2 separate regions of the Homo sapiens genome follow, and region 1 is linked to region 2. Evidence: promoter capture Hi-C in human tissues and cell types (Jung and others, 2019). All regions are on one chromosome and are shown on one strand. Each heading gives the region's core, a stretch centred on a gene start or on the middle of the fragment in contact. The rest is flanking DNA. Distances are from core to core; before and after follow the strand shown.

What was found. Contacts are between HindIII fragments. The study calls those that stand out against the background at their distance.
Region 1: a fragment that was not itself captured here is called in contact with the fragment with the promoter of DDIT4L in region 2 in 1 of the 25 tissues and cell types used here (hippocampus).

Annotation. Positions count from the first base shown.
Region 1 is chr4:100,562,656-100,565,670 of GRCh38, reverse strand. No RefSeq gene overlaps it. Among named protein-coding and RNA genes, the nearest start is that of EMCN, 46 kb to the right of the region's middle. The HindIII fragment of the contact is 4,523 bases long and covers 1-3,015 here.
Region 2 is chr4:100,189,112-100,192,073 of GRCh38, reverse strand. DDIT4L (DNA damage inducible transcript 4 like) reads left to right here and starts at 1,606. Exons shown (of 3, transcript NM_145244.4): 1 at 1,606-1,771; 2 at 2,042-2,181. The coding sequence starts at 2,091. It overlaps DDIT4L-AS1 (DDIT4L antisense RNA 1), which reads right to left and starts at 2,041. Exons shown (of 5, transcript NR_125924.1): 1 at 2,000-2,041. The HindIII fragment of the contact is 5,141 bases long and covers 1-2,962 here.

The DNA of each region.
Region 1 (3,015 bases), core at 482-2,981, 370 kb before region 2:
GAAGAAGATCAGGCTGGGTCAGACTGAAGTGACAATGCTATAGGGTGATCCACCCACATTTTAGGGTGGCCCTGGAGTAGAGTTGAGATGACCAGAGTCCATTATATAATTTTCTTTTTATCAAAACTAAGCTTGAGTCCAGTCTGGTGCAGAAAATACAGAAGTATTAGCTCAGACTGTAGGATGATATTTGAAGTCAGATGGACAGAAGTGACCCCTCAAGTCTAGAATATTGACAACTATTGATGAGCAAGAATGGTAAAAGCAGGAGAGTACTGTCTTGCACACACAATTTTGCCACCCTTTCTAATCAGCTCAGTTCTTTAAATAAAGATTTCTATTGCATTGTCATAGTGTAGCCAAGAGCTCTATCTACAAAGTCTCAGTAATACATGAGACATTGTACACCTCCTTCTACTATAATGTCAAGTTCATCATGTTGGACACCCTTACCTTGATGGACAAACATCTCATAAAACAAATGTTACTCATGGTTTTTCTTACTATTATTTTATCCTGAAAATTAGTGGGGACCATTTTTAACACTGTTCTGCCATACTTCTTATAACTCACTGGACCCAGTTTTTTTCAGTGCATTATCTTTCTGGAATTAAAAATTCAGCTTAAAACAGTGATTAGCTTAGGTGTTTTTGTTGTTGCTGTTGTAAGAATAAAGCATACACCATCTACTGGAAGACACGTCAGAGTAGACAGACTGTAGTAACAATATCAGTGGCTAAACATGATAAAAGTTTATTTTCTTTTCATAGCACAAAGTCAGCAGACAGAGATCTCTATTTCCTGCAATCATTCAGGGATCCAGGCTACTTGGATCAAGAGGACTCTCCATTCCTAAGGGCCTTGGAGTCCTCAACTGGATCATCCAGTTGAGGTCAATAGACAGGTGAATATGCCAGGTCAATAGACAAGTGAAAAGAAAGAGCTTTCGAAGCTCTGCTTTTAATCATATCAGCCCAGACACATATTAATTCTCATATTCCATTGGAGAGAATGCATCACAAGGTCCCAAATGAAAGGGGGGTCTGTTGTAATTTAGCAGTGTGCCAAGACAAATAAAACCTGGATATTAATGAAAATACTGGGCAGTCTCTGCTACAGCAGAATCCCATATTTCTACTACCATAAACTACTATTTTGTGAGCTAAGTAGTTCTCTCACTTTCTGTATTTTTTGCTACCATCCACATAATCCATCGTATGTATCATTTCTTCTTCTTTTCCCTTTCAAATAGAAGGTATTTTTAAAAATCTTAGCTCAGAAATCTTTTATTTTTTTATTTTTCCATAAGTTATTGGGGTACAGGTGGTATTTGGTTACATGAGTAAGTTCTTTAGTGCTGATAGAGATTTTGGTGCACCCATCATCCATGTATACACTGCACCATATTTATAGTCTTTTATCCCTTGCCCCCCTCCCACTCTTTCCTCCGAGTCCCCAAAGTCCATTGTATCATTCTTATGCCTTTGCGTCCTCATAGGTTAGTTCCCACATATCAGTAAGAACATATGATGTTTGGTTTTCCATTCCTGACTTATTTCACTTAGAATAATGTTCTCCAATCTCATCCAGGTCACTGCAAATGCTGTTAATTCATTCCTTTTTATGGCTGTGTAGTATTCTACCATATATACTCAGAGTTTCTTTATCTACTCGTTGATTGATGGGCATTTGGGTTGGTTCCACGATTCTGCAATTGTGAATTGTGCTGCTATATACATGCATGTGCAAGTATCTTTTTCGAATAATGACTTATTTTCCTCTGGGTAGATACCCAGTAGTGAGGTTGCTGGATCTAACTGTAGTTCTACTTTTAGTTCTTTAAGGAATCTCCACACTGTTTTCCATAGTGGCTGTACTAGTTCACATTCCCACCAGCAGTGTAGAAGTGTTCCCTGATCACCGTGTCCAAGACAATGTGTACTGTTTTTGATTTTTTTGATTATGGCCATTCTTGCAGGAGTAAGGTGGTATCACATTGTTGATTTGATTTGCATTTCCTGGTCATTAGTGATGTTGAGCATTTTTTCATATGTTTGTTGGCCACTTGTATATCTTCTTTTAAAAATTGTCTATTCATGTCCTTAGCCCACTTTTTTACAGGATTATGTCTTTTTATCTTACTGATTTGTTTGAGTTCATTGTAGAGATTCTGGATATTAGTCATTTGTCAGAAGTATAGATTGTGAAGATTTTCTCCCACTCTGTGGGTTGTCTGTTTACTCTGCTGACTGTTCATTTTGCCATGCAAAAGCTCTTTAGTTTACATCCCAGCTATTTATTTATTTTTTTTAATTGCATTTGGTTTTGGGTTCTTGGTCATGAAATTCTTGCCTAAGCCAATGTCTAGAATGGTTTTTCCAATGTTATCTTCTAGAATTTTTATAGTTTCAGGTCTTAGGTTTAAGTCCTTAATCCATCTTGAGTTTATTTTTGTATAAGGTGAGAGATGGGGATCCAGTTCATTCTCCTACATGTGGTTAGCCAATTCACCTTTTGTTGAAAAGGGTGTCCACTCCCCATTTTATGTTTTTGTTTGCTTTGTTGAAGATTCATTGGCTATAAGTATTAGGGTTTATTTCTGGGTTCCCTATTTTGTTCCATTGTCTGCATGCCTACTTTTATACCAGTAACATGCTGTTTCAGTGACTATGGCCTTATAGTATAGTTTGAAATTAGGTCGTGTGATGCCTCCAGATTTGTTCTTGATTTGGCTATGTGGGCTTTTTTTTGGTTTCATATGAATTTTAGAATTGTTTTTTCTAATTCCATGAAGAATGGTGATGGTATTCTGATGGGGATTGTGTTGAATTTATAGATTGCTTTTGGCAGTTGGTTATTTTTACAATATTGATTCTACCCATCCATGAGCATGGGATGTGTTTCCATTTGTTTGTGTTGTCTATGATTTCTTTCAGCAGTGTTTTCTACTTTTCCTTGCAGAGGTCTTTCAACTCCTTTGTTAGGTATATTCCTAAGTATTTTTATTTTTATTTT
Region 2 (2,962 bases), core at 357-2,856:
TGTGGCCTGCCCAGGGACTGACTGTCAGGCGGCTGGCATCCAACTCCTGACCATGGGCCCATCCATTGGTCCTGAACACCCTAGCCACTGAAACCGCTTTTTAATTGGCTTAAATGGGCTTGTTTATTTTCCACTTTTCTGTTTATTGAAGTAGAAGTGGAAACTGGCCTTCAAAGACCAGTCTATCAGCATCTCCTTCCTTGGCTCGCCTGACCTTCAGGCAGTGCAGCTGCCTGAACTGAGTTAAAAATGGACTGTCAAGCTGGCTTTAATTTCTGCTGCTCTGCGTCCGAATGTCCTCCCACTGATCTGTTTATCACACCCTCTATACCCCTTCTGTTGTTGTTTTTCTAAGAGTTTTATGCCAGGACAGCTGAAACTGCCTTTCAAGGTTCTAACCTGCAAATCCTTCTACACATAATCCTAGAGGGCCTGGGAGCCAACACTGGGATCTCTACTGTAGGAACAACCTTCTCCCTCCAGGCATCCCCTAACGCACCCCAAGCTGACTCTCTGAACAGATCATCTCCTACTGGCACACCAAAGCGAGAAAACCGTGGCTTAATAACTTTGGAAGAAAAAAATCAGGTTTGGCTTCTTGCTCATGGGCTATGCGGGCATGTTGCCTCTTTCCAGGGCTCCTCTGCCTCTCTGTGTGTTCCTGTGCAGGACCGCACGGAGCCCTCACAGGGATTATCTGCTGATCCCCAGCAGAATATAAAACTCTTTATCTTCAGTCTCTGAAACCTCTTCAAAATATCCCAAACCAAAGATCCTCCCAACAGGGCTCGCCAGAAACTTCTGCCTCCGGAAATGACAGTTGCTCTCGATGCACGGATAGAGGAGTACCTAAGATCCTACTAATGGTATTGTGTGTTTCTTGGCAAACTCCCGCTCAATTCAAGCTCCCCGCGCTCTGGGGCAAGGTCTAATTAGAAGAGTGCCAGGCTCACCCTTCCTGCGAAGAAAACGCATTAGCCACAGATGTAAGTGCACGAAGAATGCCAGGGAGCCACGGAGTGCGTGGGGTCATTAAGGCCCTTCTTAAAATGCTGGCGAGCCTTCGATGCGGGAAAGGAAAACTAGATCTGACCGCTTGCAGCAGAGGAGGATACAGAAACCCTGGGAGGCAGAGTAGAGTTGACTGGGTTAGAGGCCAGAAATAAGTGCATAAATGATGCTCAGTGGACGTTGCAACAGATTTAAGCCAAGTGTTCAGGATGACACAGCAAAGCCCCAGGACAAGGAAATGCACAGATCGCTTAAAGCTTCCCGCTGCCGGGAGCAGCCTGAGTGTGAAAGCGCGGACGCTCGGGGAGGGGTCGCACTGAACAATCAGGTTCAGGCTTTGACGAGTCGTGCACCCGGAATTGCGGTCCCAGTGGCCCGAGATCTACCCTGGAAGCAACAGGTGTCCGCTCTACCACAGGCTTATCCTCAACTCCCTGTGGCTAGGCTCGGGCTCCCTGGAAGTGTAGAGGTTGAAAGGGGACCAGACTCTGGAGGGGAGGGGCGGGGCGCTGGCCGGGGAGGGGCGGTGCAGGTGGGCGGGCCTGAGCAGGGTGGGGACTGGACCTATAAAGTTCTCGCTGCCCCGGAGGCTATGCTACTGCGAGGAGCCGGCGCAGGGTGGCCCGGGAGGGGTGAGCAGGGTGCCGCTGGCTGCTGGGGTCTGCAGGTCACCGAGTCCCCAGGAGAGGGGACTCCTAAGAAGCCACCTGCCTGTGTTTACCCGGCAGCGAGCGCGCAGGCCCCCGCGAACTCCTGGCAGGTGAGCGAAGCTGCGGCCTTGGTGGGGGCAGCGGGGCCGGGGGGCGCTCCGCGGGGCAGGTCGCTTCCAAGTTTTGCGAACTGTTGAGTTAGTTTCAGGTTGCGGCTCCGCTCCCAGGGCTTTGTCAAATTGAGTTGCAGAGGCCGGTTCCACCCCTTTGGCAAAGGAGTTCCTCCGCTAGTTCGCTCCCGGGACGCCGGGCATTTTAGGAGCCTCTGCACGACTCGCCTGCTTTTGCAAATCCGTCTCTTCTCGCCTCATTTTTTCCAGCGCTCAGGAAAGGCCGTTGCGCCTCGCGAAGGAAACAGAGCCGTTGACCATGGTTGCAACTGGCAGTTTGAGCAGCAAGAACCCGGCCAGCATTTCAGAATTGCTGGACTGTGGCTATCACCCAGAGAGCCTGCTAAGTGGTGAGTGTCCCCGCTGTCCACCCTTCTCCCCTCCCAAGGTCGGTGCCTCTGGATCTATTGGGTGGGCGGGCTTTCGACTTCCTCCCCTACCTCTATGTAGGAGGTGCCACAAAATCCATCTGAGGAGACTCCTTTCCAAATTTTCTAACATCTTCTCTCCATGATAGAAACAAAAGTAGCAAAAGTAGAATACCCGAGGGCTGCATCTTTCTAGTCTGGTGCCAGTAGGCCCCTTGGGATTAAGTTCCTTATCTTACATGATTGTGAAGAACACAGTTATGTGTGTTTTAGCAAATGTATTTACCCTGTAATCAATATCGCCCCTCCCCCTGAATTCCGACGCACCTATTTGCCAGGTATTCCTCACTCTCCCCTGACTCCAGGGAACTACTGATCTGATTTTTATCATTCCAAGTTAGTTTTGCCTTTAGGTAAGTGGAACCATACAGTAGGTATTCTTTTGTGTCTGGTTTCTTTCCCGCAGCCTAATGTTTTTGAGATTCTTTTATGTCCGTTGCTTAAATCAGTGTGTTCGTGTTTATTGTTTATTACTGAGTAGGATTTTCAGTCGTGGATATATCCATTATTCCATTTTTAATGTGAGAAGGAAACTGTTGAACAGCAGCGGTGCTTGACTTGCTGTCATTTGGAATTTTAACAGCAGTTTCTAGGTGAACACACTGCTCTGACACTAAAGAGCTGTAAGAGCATAGATAAACTGCTTAAGCTCTTCGTGTTTTTCTCCTTTCAAGGTGAAGTGGTTGATGACCTAATTTACAGG